Regions from separate parts of the Homo sapiens genome. Here region 1 is linked to region 2. Evidence: promoter capture Hi-C in 16 types of primary human blood cells and fetal thymus (Javierre and others, 2016). All regions are on one chromosome and are shown on one strand. Each heading gives the region's core, a stretch centred on a gene start or on the middle of the fragment in contact. The rest is flanking DNA. Distances are from core to core; before and after follow the strand shown. Region 1 overlaps TEX11 (testis expressed 11). Region 2 holds the start of DLG3 (discs large MAGUK scaffold protein 3).

The links. Contacts are between HindIII fragments. The CHiCAGO score rates a contact against its expected background, and 5 or more counts as called.
Region 1: a contact is called between a fragment that was not itself captured here and the fragment with the promoter of DLG3 in region 2, in 1 of 17 cell types (M2 macrophages). The highest score is 5.8, in M2 macrophages.

The regions. Positions count from the first base shown.
Region 1 is chrX:70,536,139-70,540,061 of GRCh38, reverse strand. All of the region lies in intron 28 of TEX11 (testis expressed 11), which reads left to right. Among named protein-coding and RNA genes, the nearest start is that of DLG3-AS1, 82 kb to the right of the region's middle. The HindIII fragment of the contact is 1,510 bases long and covers 1,214-2,723 here.
Region 2 is chrX:70,441,926-70,446,339 of GRCh38, reverse strand. It overlaps DLG3 (discs large MAGUK scaffold protein 3), which reads right to left and starts at 1,505. Exons shown (of 19, transcript NM_021120.4): 1 at 782-1,505. The coding sequence starts at 1,138. RefSeq lists an enhancer at 1,201-1,987. The HindIII fragment of the contact is 21,076 bases long and covers 1-4,414 here.

The DNA.
Region 1 (3,923 bases), core at 719-3,218, 93 kb before region 2:
ACCTGCTTTAGCAAGGGAGTGGGCCCAGCCTTGTTACTTCCAGGTAGAAGTAGAAACAAGCCTAAGTTTCTAACTTGACCTCCATCATTGATACTCAAGGTAGAGGACTCCTTTTTACTACTGGTCCCTTGGCTAGAGACAGCAGACTTTTCTTGGGGCTTTTTTCTTTCTTTTTCTTTTTGGGTCTATGTCTGTTGGCATCTCTAGCACCAAGTTTGGGGTATATGAAGCAAAAAGAAAACCCAGAGAACTTATCACTGTGTCAATCCTTGGCTCCAAGGTCTTCCCTTTCTCTACACCTTTCAGAGGTTTCTTATGTTTGTTTTATGTATAATGTTCAAGAGTTAGTTTTATTTAGCAGGAAGAATAGGGATAAGTACATTTATTCCATCTCATGGAAGTGGAAATTTCTTGGTTCATTTTTAAGAATATACAAAGACTTAAATAATGGTGGGGGGGAAACCTACACTTAAAGAGAAGGGACAAACCTAATCCTCACAGCTGATGTCAGAGTCACAGAGTCACAAAGGCGTTTTGTAACCAAGAAGCCCAGAAGAACACAGACTCTTTCCTTTTACAAGGGAAGCTAAGGTGATTCAAACTACTGAGCTACATTCTCTAAGAGTTTGCTTCCCAAAGCGTGATCAGCATCCCCTAGGAGCTTGTTAGAAGCATGGAATCTTAGGCCCCAGACCTACTGAATCAGTCTGCGTTTTAACTATACTTCCGGCCGGGCACGGTGGCTCATGCCTGTAATCCTAGCACTTTGGGAGGCCGAGGCGGATGGATTACTTGAGGTCAGAGTTCAAAACCAGCCTGGCCATCATGGTGAAACCCTGTCTCTACTAAAATTACAAAAGTTAGCCGGGCGTGGTGGTAGGCGCCTGTAATCCCAGCTACTTGGGAGGCTGAGGCCGAAGAATTGCTTGAACCTAGGAGGCGGAGATTGCAATGAGCCAAGATCACACCACTGCACTCCAGCTTGGGCAACAGAGTGAGACTCCATCTTAAAAAAAAAAAAAATATATATATATATATATATTTCCAAGTGTCTTGTATGCACATTAAAGTTTGAGAAGGTCATTTATCAGTATCTTTTGTCTCTTGTTTGGCCTTCTACTTGTTCAATTTCATCTCAGTTCCTACTTCTGCCAATCTTATATAAGTTCATAGATTAGGCAATTGGGATCTAAAGGAAATATAAGGTAAAGCTTCATTCAATGACTGAGAAAATTTAGAACTGGAAACTAATGATCTTTGCAGTTACCTAATTTAAGCTCATTATTTTGCAAATTGAGGCATTGAAAGGTTAAATATCTGACACAAGGTCATACCACTATATAATGGCAAAGCTAAAAATTGCAGCCGTGTTATTTCTTCATAGGACAATGGTCCTTGGGTTTTCTTTCATCTATTTTTTAATAAAATTTTTTTAATTGAGAGGAGGTCTTACTATGTTGCCCAGGCTGGTCTCAAATTCCTGGGCTCAAGCAATCCTCCTGCCATGTCCTCTCAAAGTGCTGGGATTACAGGTGTGAGCCCCTGCACCCAGCCTTCTTTCATCTAAATCTTCCTCCTTCCAAGCCTCACGTCTCCCTGAGACTGGAATTGAGGTTCATACAAAGCCATCTTTGAGTCAGACTTTGATATTGTGTCTCTCCTACAGCTTTGTAGTTTCCTAATTGGTCTCTGGCTCTTTCTTCTCTTCTCCATTTTTTCCTGTTCATCCCTATCAAATATATCTCCGTAAAACACAACTTTTGCTCTATCACTCCCTTTCCCTCAAATCTTTTAACAACTCTGTATTTCCCAAATCCTTACCTAGACCCTTAAGGCTATCTATCCATAACCTCATTCAACCCCCAAAACAAGACAGAGTTTTTCCCAGGCAATAGTCAATATTCTCTTTATCATCAACCTTCACCTCCTTCTCTCCCTTCTTCTTAGAACAAAGCAGAATCTTCCCTGAAGAAAACGTGTCCCTCACTACGAATTTTTATGGAGGTCTCATCTTTTCCAACTCCCTTTTTCTCAGCAGAAGGGACTAAATTACCTGGATCTTTGCTCCATGGTGGCACTTTGTACTATTTATATACCACCTTCCTACGGCTTCTCTTCACTTAAAACCTATATCTCTTCATCACCAATGTTGTCATGTCCTGGACCCACCTTTTCCTTCCTTGGTAACTTCATTGTTATTTATTATCCTAAGTGACTTTGGCATCCATGTTAGCAATTCTTGTACCTCACAGTTTCCGTTTTTCACTTTTTAGCCACTGTCTACCTCCCATATAAGCCACCCACTGTGGCACTGCTCCATCTTCAAGATTGGTAACTAACGCAACACTTTTCTATTGAGTCTAATCTCCCTTACTTCCCCATATCTATTCTCTGTTCTCACTTGAACTTCAAATCACTCGTCTTTTCCCACTCTATTATAGTCCAGTCTAACTACCTTTTTTTTCTTTTTCTCTTTCTTTTCCTTTCTTTCTTTCTCTTTTCTTTATTTCTTTATTTGCTTCCTTCCTTCTTCCCTCCCTTCTTTCCTCCCCTTCCTTCTCTCTTTCTCTCTTCTTTTGATTATTCCTGCTGTTTCATTTTTTTCCAAACCTGGTACCTTGCCACCATCAGTTCTTCTGCTCCTGATCTTGAGCAGCAGAAGCACTAAAGAAAGTTACAGAACCATCTAGATCTGGCCCAGTACAGATTCATTCTGTTAAGCTTTCAGTGGGTTCTCATTGCTGCTCAGAAATTCTTTTATTCTTGTCAACTTTTTGGCAAACTCAAGTAAAGTGGCTGCTTCAAACCTTTTCTAATCTCGTAAAAACTTAGACCTACCTCATTCCCCATTAGATGATCTCATCATATCATTTCAGTTGAGAAGATCAAGGGCATCACATATGAGATCCCTCATTGGCCCATGTCTCAACCATAACATTCTACCACTGTACCTACCTACTCACCTTTCCTCTTTTTTCAAAAGAAATTTTCTCAACCTTGCACTGTCAGTTCAATCCCCTTCTACTTCCTGAGGCATTTTACTGCCTGTCCATCATTTTTACTCTCTGCCTACAGATGGTTCCATTCTGCTTTCAAGAATGCATAAGTCTCAAACAAATGGAAATATATACCATGTTCTTGGACAGGAAAGCCCTAACAGTATAAAGTCAGTTTCCCTAAATTCAATGCAATAAATTCAGTCAAAATTAAAATCTCAATAGGATTTTTAATGAAACTTGATGATTCTAAAATTCTTCCCTAAAAGAAAATGAACCAAAACATTTTTTGTAAAAGAACAAGGAAGGACTTGCCTTATCAAATACTTTTAAAACTATAAAATGATATTAATTTTAAAAGTATGGCATTAGTGCAAAAATCTACAAAGAGATTAATAGAACAGGACTGAGCCCAGAAGGAGATCCACATATCTATGAGAATTTTGTATGCAATGGAAAAGGTATATCACATCACTGAGGGAACAATTGGTAAAATGGTATTGGGACAATTTAAAAAGCAAAGTTACGTCCTTATTTTTAAACTGAGGGGCGTTATAGCATAGTGGTTAAGAGAACAGACTTTGGAGCCACATAACCAGTTCAAATAAATTCTGGCTACACCATTTATTAGCTGTATGACTTTGGTCTTATTAATTAATTATGTATACCTCTGTATCCTCATCTGTAAAATAAATATAATAATAATCTCAGCACTTTGGGAGGCAAAGGCAGGAGTATCGCTTGAGGCCAGAAGTTCAAGACCAGCCTGGCCAACATAGCGAGATCTTGTCTCTATGAAAAATAAATAAATAAATAAAAGCTAAAAAAAGTGCCTACCTTACAGTATTATTAGTATTAAATAACTTAATATATATAAAGTACTTATAGCAGCACATAGTAAGTACTATATAAGTGATAGTATTATTT
Region 2 (4,414 bases), core at 256-2,755:
TCTCGCCTCCTTCCTCTCCCCTCCCTTGCCTGTCAAGCGCCTCTCACCAGAGACAACACATACAAACACACACTCACACACACACACCAGGCACACGCGTGCACACTCTTGCAGCCACATGCTCACACACATATACATGTAGCCACACACACAAACACAGCCATCCCTGCAGCCTCCTCTACAGAGACCTCTCCACATTCAGAGTGACATCTCCACACATCCATGTGCACATTCACACACAAAGGGACTGGGACGGAGAGGGACTCATGGCATCAAGGGATGAAGCTCAGCGAGCCGGGCACATGGGCTCCTCCACACGGATTCACGGCAGCTCCATTGCCTTCCTCCACACACCCCAACATACATACACACACATATGTCCCCCCTACGCAGAGCACCATGCCCCCTCCCCTCCCCTCCGGTGGAGACACACACCACACACAGCCCCCGCAGAACCTCCCGCCCCCTGCCAGACACAGAGACATTGCCAAACCCCCACACTGAGACAAACCCAATTCCCCCACACAGGAAAATGTGCCCCTCCGCCATGCCCTTACCCCCTGACACACGGCTCCTCCCAGTCTTCTAATGGAGACCCCCAAACAGACACACACAGGGAACCACACATTTCCCACCGCCTCTCTTTGCCCAGCTGCAATGCTAGGGCTCGGGGTCCACAGGCTTGGAGCCCCAGCGACCCCTACTGCATCCCAGGCCTCTAGGCCCCCACTCTCCAGCCCTCCTGGGTTGCCCCACCGCTCCCCCCTCCGCTGGTCCATACCTGCTCATACCAGTCCCGGTTGGTACAGGTGCACTCTGGCCACCAGCTGGGGCCGCTGCCGTTGAGTTTGGGGGTGCTCTTGCCCGGGACTGGCTTAGGAGGCACCGGCCCCACATCCCGGCCGGTGGGGATGAGCTTGGCCTTGGTGCGAGGGGTGGGGGTGGCCCCCGCCTGCGAGGGCAAGGTCTGCGAGCTGTAGCCCCCATAACCCGCGCTGGCGCCGTTGCCCCCACCTGGCCCGTAAGGGTCGGGGACTTGCCAGTCGCCGTAGCCCGGAGGCTCGAGGCGCCGCAGGGCGGCCAGGCGGGTCACCTCATAGCACTCAGGGCACTTACAGCAGTGCTGGTGCTTGTGCATGGCACTGCCCCCCGCGGCTCGGACCCCCCAGCCCACGCCGGATTCCACGCCGCCGCCACCGCCGCCACCACCGCCGCCGCCGCCGCCGGGCTCCCTGGCACACTCACACTGCTCGGACCAAGAAGGGGGGGGCACCCGTGGGGGCGCCCGGGCTGAGCGGGGCCTGGGGCCGGGCGGGCGTCCCGGGGCCTCGGCCCCCACGCTGCCCCGCACCCACGGCTCCCCCTCCAGCACTGGCGGCTCCGTGTCGCCCGTCGTGGCTTCTGGGCCGAGGCCCAGCGGCAAAGAAGAAGCGGGAGCTCAAGCAGAGAATGGGTGCTGTGAGGACCGCTTCTGCTCTGGTCCCCAGGATGGATCTGAGTGGAGTCAAGAGCATCTCTCCCTGGCTCCCTTCTCAGTTGATTCCAGCCAATCAGCGCGCAGAGGCAGGCAGCGGCAGCGGCAGCGGCGGCGGCAGGAATGCTAAACAGCGGCTACTTAAAGGAACAGAGGCAGCGGCGCCCCCAGGCTCAGCCCCAGCTCCCCCAATCTCTAGGGAACTGTTGGCTCTAAGGGCGGGGGCAGAGGACGTGGGCCACCAGAAAGCTCAGGCACCCGATCTTGTGCCCTTATATCGCCAGTTTTAGCCTGTCCTCTGCCCACTCCACCCCACCCCACTTCCAAGAGGGAGTTGCAGGGAGATGTTCAATGGGTCCCCAGGCTTGCTCTGAGCTGGGGCCACCAGAAGTAAAGACGAGGTAGCAGGATGGACAGAAAGGACGTTGGAGCAGGGTGAGGGAGGTGCTTTCTCTTACAGGGGACCAAAGAAGAAGGCAGCATATGAGGCCCGCTGTCCTGTCAATGCCTCCTACACAAGACTATTGTTCTCTCAGTCTCTAGGCCCTGAAATTACTGTGACCTCACACTTGACCTTCTACCATCACCAGTAAAGAACTCAACCCTAGAACAGGGATTAACAGAAAGCTCTAAGTCCTTGTCCCTGGCCCACAAACCCCTATCTCCTCCACTCCACCCCTGCATGGTTATGATGGGGGAAGGAACTTCAGGATATCAAGATGAAAGTCCAGGACAGGTGAAAAGGTAAGAAGGGATTTGAAGAGAGAGAAACCCTTCTATGGGTCTGGAATAGAGCTTAGGAATACTTGTCCAAGGACATCTCCTTACCCTCTCCTGGCTCAGCTTGTCGGGGGAATGGAGGAAGGATGACATACAAGAAAGACTATCTTTTTTGCAGTTCTTGTTTTGTTTTTAGCTACCAATTATTGGGTCTTTACAAAGTCCTAAGTGCATAACACGCAAACCCAAATCCTACCAAGCTGATGCTATTATTATCTTCATTTTACCAATGAGAAATTGAGGCTCAAAGATGTTAACACAGCTAGGTAACACAGCTGGAAGTGACAGAATCAGGATGCAAATCCTGATTATTTGACTCCAGAGTCCACGCTGTGAACCACTCTAGTACGACAGGTCTATTCTAAGTTCTCCTGCAGAATTTACATCTCAGTTCAATTCAGCAAATATTCATTGAGCACCTGCTCTGTGCAAGACCTTGACCTAGGTATTAGGGATACAGAGGTTCTTTTTTTTTTTTTTTTTTTTTTTTGAGATGGATTCTCATTCTGTCACCCAGGCTGGAGTGCAGTGGCGTGATCTCAGCTCACTGCAACCTCAGCTTCCCAGGTTCAAACGATTCTCCTGCCTCTCAGTCTCCCTAGTAGCTAGGACTACAGGCTCCTGCCACCACGCCCGGCTAATTTTTGTATTTTCTTAGTAGAGATGGGGTTTCATCACGTTGGCCAGGCTGGTCTCGAACTCCCGACGTCAAGTGATCCACCCACCTTGGCCTCCCAAAGTGCTGGGATTGCAGGTGTGATCCACTGTGCCCGGCCCTCAGAGATTCATTCTTAATTCAACAAATATGCGTGGAACACTTGCTGTGTGCCAGACACTGTTGTAGGATTTGGGGATATAGCAGGAAACAAAATAAAACAGAACAAACAGAACAAATCCCTGCCCTTGGGGAGCTTACCTCCTAGTGAGAGGACACAGACAAAAATAAACACAATAAATAAGTGAATTATGTAGTACAGTAGGTCCTCATTTAACATCATTGGTAGGTCCTTGGCAACTGGGACTAAGTGAAACAACGTATAACAAAACCAATTTTACCACAGGCTAATTAATATAAACAAGAGCTAAGTTCCTACAGCATATTTCTGGTCACAAAACATCACCCAGCTTCCAAATAAAGACCCAAAACACTTCTGATATTGAACATTGAAATAAATATGAGCTATGCATACATATAGAAAGATTAATGAAAACAAGTAAATAATTACCTAACCTTTGGTGAACCAGTGAGTGACAGCAGTGGAAGTGGTGGTGGGTTGAATCAAGGAATAAATGTATGCAAAGCGAAAATTGTAAGGAGCACCTCCCTACCACCATGCAGTTCAAAAGCAAACAATCACGAATATGGTGAGCTCGATGAGCACTTTCTTACCTCATAGTTTATTGTGCATTTGTATGATTATCAACTACTTGACAAATTTTTATTTTACAGTACTTTGTATCCATCCATCCATCCATCCATCCATCCATTCATTCATTTTTCAATCTGCTTATTTCAGTTCAGGGTCAAGGGTGGCCACAGCCTATCACAGCAGCTCAGGGTACAGGGCAGGAACCAATCCTGGACAGGATGCCATTCCATCACAGGGTGCGCTCACATACACACCCACACTCACTCACACTGGGACAATTTAGACACGCCAATTCACCTAACGTGCACTGGGATGTGGGAGGAAGCGCAGTACCCTGGAATACCCGAGAAAACCCACACATACATGGGGAGAGTGTGCAAACTCCACACAGACAGTGGCTCTGGCCAGGAATCGTTTTAGTTGTTTTTTTTTCCCCCTCATCAATGTTAAAACAAAATGATGTTGAAGAAAACAACATTATTCAGCATATACACCTGCTGTGTATATGGTGATAAGTGCCATGGAAAAAAATAAAAAGTAGAGCACAGTAAGATGGATTGGGAATGGTAGGGGAGGATACCAAGTTGTGATTTTTTTTTCAAGTTTTTTGCCCCCACAGTTTAATATGAAAGTTTTCAAACATACAGAAAAATTCAAAGAATTTTACAGTGAACATCCAATTACCCACTGCCTAGGATTCTCATTAACATTTTGCTATGCTTGCTTTATCATATATCTATCCTCCACATATCCTCTCCAACAGTTTTAAAAATGAAAATTTACAAACATA